Regions from separate parts of the Homo sapiens genome. Here region 2 is linked to region 1. Evidence: promoter capture Hi-C in 16 types of primary human blood cells and fetal thymus (Javierre and others, 2016). All regions are on one chromosome and are shown on one strand. Each heading gives the region's core, a stretch centred on a gene start or on the middle of the fragment in contact. The rest is flanking DNA. Distances are from core to core; before and after follow the strand shown. Region 1 holds the start of GLYATL3 (glycine-N-acyltransferase like 3). Region 2 holds the start of CRISP1 (cysteine rich secretory protein 1).

Evidence for each region. The method cuts DNA at HindIII sites, captures the fragments that hold promoters and counts their contacts. A CHiCAGO score of 5 or more calls a contact.
Region 2: a fragment that was not itself captured here is called in contact with the fragment with the promoter of GLYATL3 in region 1 in 4 of 17 cell types (erythroblasts, M2 macrophages, megakaryocytes and 1 more); the score reaches 13.2 in erythroblasts.

Annotation. Positions count from the first base shown.
Region 1 is chr6:49,497,814-49,501,533 of GRCh38, forward strand. GLYATL3 (glycine-N-acyltransferase like 3) reads left to right here and starts at 2,110. Exons shown (of 6, transcript NM_001010904.2): 1 at 2,110-2,229. The HindIII fragment of the contact is 14,834 bases long and covers 1,195-3,720 here.
Region 2 is chr6:49,866,363-49,869,855 of GRCh38, forward strand. CRISP1 (cysteine rich secretory protein 1) reads right to left here and starts at 173. Exons shown (of 8, transcript NM_001131.3): 1 at 67-173. The HindIII fragment of the contact is 540 bases long and covers 1,395-1,934 here.

The DNA.
Region 1 (3,720 bases), core at 860-3,359:
AGCCACCATAGAACCAATTTTTCTTGACTTAGGTGTTTGCTGTCTTATTAAAGTAGCCTCTGTTCTTATCAGGGCTGTGAAGTTGCTTTAGCAACCATCTCCAAAATTGGATATAGTAGTTGTTAAAACTAGACAAAGAAGAAGATAAAAGAGGGACATTTTCTGAATTCATTAGAACTACAATAGAGCACATTTTTAAAATTAAGTTGTTCATTTTTTTTAATACTTTAAGTTCTAGGGTACATGTGCACAACGTGCAGGTTTGTTACATATGTATACATTTTTAAACTAATAGAAATAAATGTGCCTTAGCCAATTTTGCCCCATTTCTACCCCCTAGAGTTGTCCTTAAAATTACTGTAAGTTTTCAAATAGTACAACAGGGATATAAGACAGTCATAGCAATGAGAAAAATGGCTGACATTTATTGAGTGCTTGCTACATGCCAGGTACTAGTCCAATGCCATTACCTATATACATGTATTTATGCCAATGTTTAATCTTAATGGAAACCCTATGGGAATTAAACCTCATAACATTCATTATTATCTCCATCCTGCAGGTGAAGAAACTGCGGCACAGGGAGGCTAAATAACTTGAGATCACACAGATAGTAAATGATAGAACAAGGAAGTGAAAAAATAATTGAACCTTTTCTTAGGAGTTTTCTGATAAACTACAAGTAGAAGGGGCTAGTGAATCTAATGAGTAACCCCTATTACAGCAAAGTACAATCTGATGTATTTTTCTGAGTAAAGTGATAATATGTATTGCGGATTTGTTCACCTGGGTTTTCAGAAGACAATTCCTTTAAATTAATCTTACATTGGGAATCTCCTTTTTTCCTCCTTTTTCCGTTAATCTCAGAGTTAAAAGTTTGCCTTAGCCTAATATATATACATATCTCAAATTTAATTACCTTCAACCATACTTTCCAGGAAAAGGAATGTTTTGCCTTTTTATTATTTTTTTCTTCAGGCAAAAATTAGTTCCAATTAGTTCTGATGTTTTATAAAGAACAAAGAGCTCAAATTTCTGTTTTAAATGCACTTGGAAACAAGACGTAATCTAAATTTGGGGAGACTTTTACATGTCTCAGAGTTTATAAATAACCAGACCCCAAACTTTTTAAAGTTTCCCCTAGGATATTGCACTTACTGTCTAAAGGAGTTCCTGTTTTGCAAATAAAAAAAAAGCTTAACTTTTAAAAAATATATTTTACTCAGTTAATATTTAGAAAACTATATTTATATAGGCTCCTTAGGTCCAAGAGTAGGTATACTTTGTTCTCAGTAACATCTTTTAAAAAAGAAGTTATCAATGTATACAGCAAGATCAAAAACTCTTATTTTGACATCTAGTAATTGACATCTAATACAATTTCTCCATTTGCTGTCAACTACTAGCTGCCCATTGTATTACAAAGCTCAGTGTCCTCTAGTGAAGAATGCCCTACCTTACCATTTTATGAGACCTAAATGTGGTAAACAGAATCCTCCCATCTAACCACATTCAAACTGAAGCACTCTGCATATGCCGTTGAGACATTTGTGTTGCATATTATTTCAAGATGTAGATATTGAGTGCTGAGATGTCCAAGTAAATACTTACATGGTGGTTAAAATTGCAGTCTTTTGAAAGAAGTGAGTAAACTCTGAATGACTTTTCATTTAAAAGAATAGGCTGAAGTAATTAAAATTCTTGAAATTACTCTCATGTACTTATGTATCCTCTGTAGAGATTACCCCCTTTCAGCCTTGGAAGTTTAGGGCAGCAAAATCATTTTCTTCAGAATATATAAAAAAATAACTAAAGGGTCAATACCTTTATATTACTTTCTTATCGTACTACCATTTGCCTGGGCTCCTCTTCTTTTTATTCTCCTTCATGAGATACTGATTAATAGACAGGTTTTATGGCTAGAAAATACCTATCTCTAAATCAAGATTAGTATTCATTGGCTTTTACACCATAAGGCTAAATGTGATAAAAAGGAAGAGATGGAGTGGAAATGCCTGTGCTCTATGTGAGATGATTTTCACCTGATCACCATCATAAACTCCTCCCCGTCTACAGGTGTGGGCACTTTTTTTTTTTTCTCTCCCTCCTGTTTCCACTAAGGGCTAATTAGAGAGGTAGCCTTGAAGAATAAACTTACCATTTATATAAAAGGGCTACTGGACTGATACACAGCTGAAAACCCTCAGTTCTGGACTGAACTCCCAGCAGGTAAACATTTATTCATTAATATAATACATTTCAAGTCATAGTTTATAATTGCAGAAAGGGATGGGAAAAATAGAGAAGAGATGAAATCCAACCTTATACAGAACGAATACATTGTAATTAGGTTTCAAGGAAAGATATATTTTGTTTTGTTTCTTGGCGTGTTTTTGTTTGGGGTTTTTTTAACTCCTAAATTTTGATATGAGGAAAATTTTTACTCTTAAATTTTGATGTGAGGAAAATAAGTATTACCAAGTATAAATTTGTTTGCATTGTGATATGGGCACAACTAGAGCAACCTCTCTGAACAAAAATCCTAACATATGAAAAATAATTACTAGCATTGGATTCCAAGTGCTTAAAAAAATGTATTTCCTCATTAACAAATGCCCACCATTATATTGTAAATATTGTATTACATTACAAAAACAGAGATCTTATGTTTTATTGCTTATAAGACTTAAAAGTCTCCCAGGAGAGTGTCATGCTTTCATTGTTATGATAAATATTAATGAATAAAATATTTTAGATGCTTGCTCTGTGCTTATAAACACTCAAATGCCCCCAAAGAAACTTCAGTTTCTAAAACTTACATGAGCATAATTCTTTTTCTTGACAAATACTTTCAAACAGTGAGTCTATTGGTTATAATTTGGTTAAAGGAGTTACCAACCTTTAACTTCCAATTCCAGAACATACTGATTATGGACAGTACTAATCAAGTGGTAAGGATATGACATTCTGCTCTTGTAGCTTTCAGAGTTAATCGTCATTATGACTCTCTAACATGTTACAAAAATGTGTAGAAAATATTTTCTGCATCAATGAGAATTTCTGCTCTACCTTGTGGCATTAAAAAAATTTCTATTTAATGAAAGATCCTTATGAAATGAATCACTGTTTACTGAAAGGGTATTGTCAAATGTAGATTAATTGTAGTGTCCTCTCTGCATGAACCCATGGGGGAATGTCTCTGATTTTAGTTTGTCACCCTGAGTAATTTGTGAGTTGCATGAGTATAGTCTAGAAGGGTAAGTTGAAGCCAATTAAGTAGAGGTTTTGCTATTAAGAAGCTGGAGGCCAGGCAGGGTGGCTCACACCTGTAATCCCAGCACTTTGGGGGGCCAAGGCAGGTGGATCACATGAGGTCAGGAGTTTGAGATCAGCCTAGCCAACATGGTGAAACCCCCCATCTCTACTAAAAATATAAAAAAAACTAGCCAGGCGTTGGTGGTGTGTATCGCGGGAGCTGGCCAGCAGCCCGCAATGCAACGGGGCTCTCTCTTTGTTCCTAGGTGGATTGGCAGGTCGAGAAATAAGAGACTCACACAAGATAGTGAAAGCAGGTCCCGCGGTGCCGCCAATGCACTGACTATACCAGCATTTATTATTAAGTTTAGTGAGGGCAGCGGTAGGTTAGTGAGGGATTTAGGGTCATTTGATTATGAGGTGAGATGGTCACATGGGGATGAAGTAATTCTTTAACATAATATC
Region 2 (3,493 bases), core at 415-2,914, 370 kb after region 1:
TTTGGGTAGTCACTTATGAATCTTATTTTCAAATAAAGAAACTGACAAAGATATTATATAACTTACCCAAGTCCACACAGCCTTTAAATTTGTGTCCTGATAAGAACCAAGCCTTTCTCTATGTAGTGTATTTGTGCTTTTAAATGACAGTCCACAGGGGAGATTTGTTCAATGAGGTAGTCAGTACAAGGTAAATGCCTATAACAGATCAAGGGATTTACGGTGGACACCAGGCATGAATACATGATAATCAGAACAAATCTAGAGTCTGTGAAGATTACAAATCATGATTATGGGGACATTTCTAGTTTGTAACCAAGGCAACATCATCAATGGAACTCACCAATTTTAAACTTTTACCCTGGGAACTAACTGCAAAGATTAGTTGCATGATTCAGCAGAGCCACAATCAGATAACAAAGGTCACTGTAAGGGAAAATGACTTGCTGGTCCAGAAACTTCTCAACTTTATTAAATTCATTCAGTAATTATTTATTGAGGTCTTAAGATGATTTATGCTCTCTTCTAGATGCTGAGGATACATAGAATCACCAAACATATAAACTACACAATCTTATGGAGTTTGGTAACTGTTCTATAATGTGTCACATACTTGGAGAGGCTCTGGGAATGAAAAGATAAGTAGTCCATTTTCCTAAGACCTTCCTGGTTAAAAGGAAAACTTCTGCAATTTGGGAGAATTCTAATAGAGATTTGTCCAGAAACAATGTGGAAGCAACTAACTACCTTGAGAGGTCTAGAAATACTGAACACTAAATTGTAAAACACTAAAAATTCCAGAAATCATTTGAGTCACATGATGAGAAATATCACAGGACACTTAGAACAAAGAAAGAAATATCACACAGACAGAAATCACATATGAGAATAGAAAATTTACTCTGAAACTAGGTGTAATCAGATGTTTTTGAATTGTCTTATTATTCTGAAAAGTTGGGAAATGTTTGTATATGTGAGTGCATGGTCGCTTATATTGAAGTCATAGCTTGCTGGCCTCTTTTTAAAATTATGAATTAAGTCTTTGTTCTTTGTAAGAAAGAATACATTATTATTTAATAAAAAATATTTTTCTTGTATCTTGCTTAAGAAAGGGCAATTGAATATCTAAAAGGAAAGAGTAAAAATAAGGTAAGAATTGTGTAGTCATAAGTTATTTTGTGTTAGTTCTGGGGTGAGGGTTAGGAAATAAAAATTAAAAGAAAGATCAGAGTCTCTTAAGATAGAACTTTCTGGTCTTGTTAAAGTATATAATGAATGTCCAGAAAACCATCTGCAGGAAAGGAGAACTAAACATCACTAAAAATTGCTCACCTATACCTAGAAGAATTTCTCTTTTGGTTGAGGGAGATGGTGTTAATCTAAAAACATAGAAAAGCTTATCTGTAAACTCTTTCATAGATAAGATGAATTATCTTTAGCTTAACTTTAATTGGCTTTAAAGAATTTTACATGATCTTGAAATTAACACTTCCAAATTATTGAGCAACTTTCTCCAACAAACTACATTGTAAAAAGAAAGCTGCAAAAGAATGCTATTACTTCACCAAACCAGCATGGTTTATATATTAGAAATGTATAATTGTCATTTATTTCTTGCTAAACTGCTGTTTATAAAGGAGAGTGTTGATTCAACATCAAGTCAAGTGTTTATGGAAACTTAATTGCTCTGGTTTTATCTGTTGGTCCTGGCAATTCCTGGCATTGCTCTACCCAACACAATGCTGTCTGTATTTATAGCACTGATGTCTTCATATAGAGTTGCTATCCAGCTTCATATATGGTTTTAAAAGAATTTGGGAAGTGTTGGAAAGCAAGGAATAACTTGATTTGCATGTGAGTCCCAAACATGGGTGCCAGTTGGCTGTTTCTGTTCATAAATTTCCTATTTTCATAGATTGTTCTCTTTCTGTTTAAGCTTTTTAGCATAGTAGGAAACTATCTACAATAACTTTTTTCCCTAAAATAATAATCTGACACATTTATCTAGCATATCATAACATGATAGAATATTTCTAACTGGATTATCCCAGAAAAATCTTGAGAGATAGATAAAGGCTAATGTGTTTACAATCACATCATGTTTGTCTGAATATATCCATTTTTAAAAGAAACTTTAAATCAATCATTTACTCAGAGATTGGCTAACAAAAATTTTAGAAAGCCCAGATATATAATACATGTTGAAGGAAGCATTCATGTGTTAAATGTGATTTTAAAATCATATTTGTAAAATAATTTTGCATATATTCTGGCTGTGGCTTTATTCTAATTATCCACTGGACACAGACATCCTCTCCTTTCCCTTCACTTTCTCCATGACTGAACTCTTACCTACAACAATCCCATTTGTGTCTCATTGCTTCTTCATACCACTCAGTAAAATTGTGCTTATGCTTCAAAGTCCTGTATGTTGCAAGGGCTCAATGACTCCAGACTTGCTCAGAAACTCAGGCCAAAAAGTACTCTAGACTTTAACAAATTCAAACTTATGTTGCACATAAAATAAAGCCAAAGTCAGTTTCTGAATTTGAATTTTAAGAACCCTGGGAGATTAATGGCCCTTTGAAATTTCCCCCCTCTTCTTCTACAATTTATAGCTTTCATAATCAGAATGAAAGTCAATATACATTTATCCTTCTATTCAACTTTGTTTTAGTTGTCTACTTCTCATAATAAATAATCCCAAGGCTCAATGATTTAAAGCAATAAATGTGGTCTCTTGGTTTCTGGGAATCAGTAATTCAAGGATGGCTTGACTGAGCACATTTGGTTTATGGTGCCTCATTGATTGCAATCAGTTGTCAGTTGAGGCTGCAGACATTTATATCTCTGATGGCTTTCCTGCTTCCAAATTGATTTACTTATATGACTTGCAAGTTGGTGCTGTTTGTTGGTGCGAAGCCCTAGTTGCTCTCCAGATTGGCCTTTCCACAGGGCTTCTGATTATCCTTATAACTTGACAGTCACCTACCCCTGAGCAAATGATGCAAGAACACAGGAGAGGCTGCAATGCCTTTTATGACATAGAGTGAGAAGTCACACACTTTAATATTCTATTGTTCACAGAGTCTAGCTCTAATTCGATTAACAAGAAGACCACACAAGAGCATAACTACCAGGAGGCAAGGATTATTGAAGCTATCCTGGAAGTTGCCATCATACACTCCTACCCCTAACCTCTTTTTAACTTTAAATTCAGTTTTTTCTACAGCTCACTTGAGGAAAGTCTTGTGATTCCTCTCAAGTTAACAGAAAGATGTCAGTATAAAGCTGGAAGTATGAAAACAGTATCCTTTCTTTCCCAGGAGTAAAAGTGTTAAAAAATCATGCCAAAAATTTAAATGGAAAAGGAAGGTACTATGGTCTAAATGTTGGTGTCCCCTCAAAGTTTATGTGTTGGAACCTAATACCTAATGTGATTGTGTTAAGAGTTAGGGCCTTTTGGGAAAGACTAAGTCAAAAGGGCTCCATT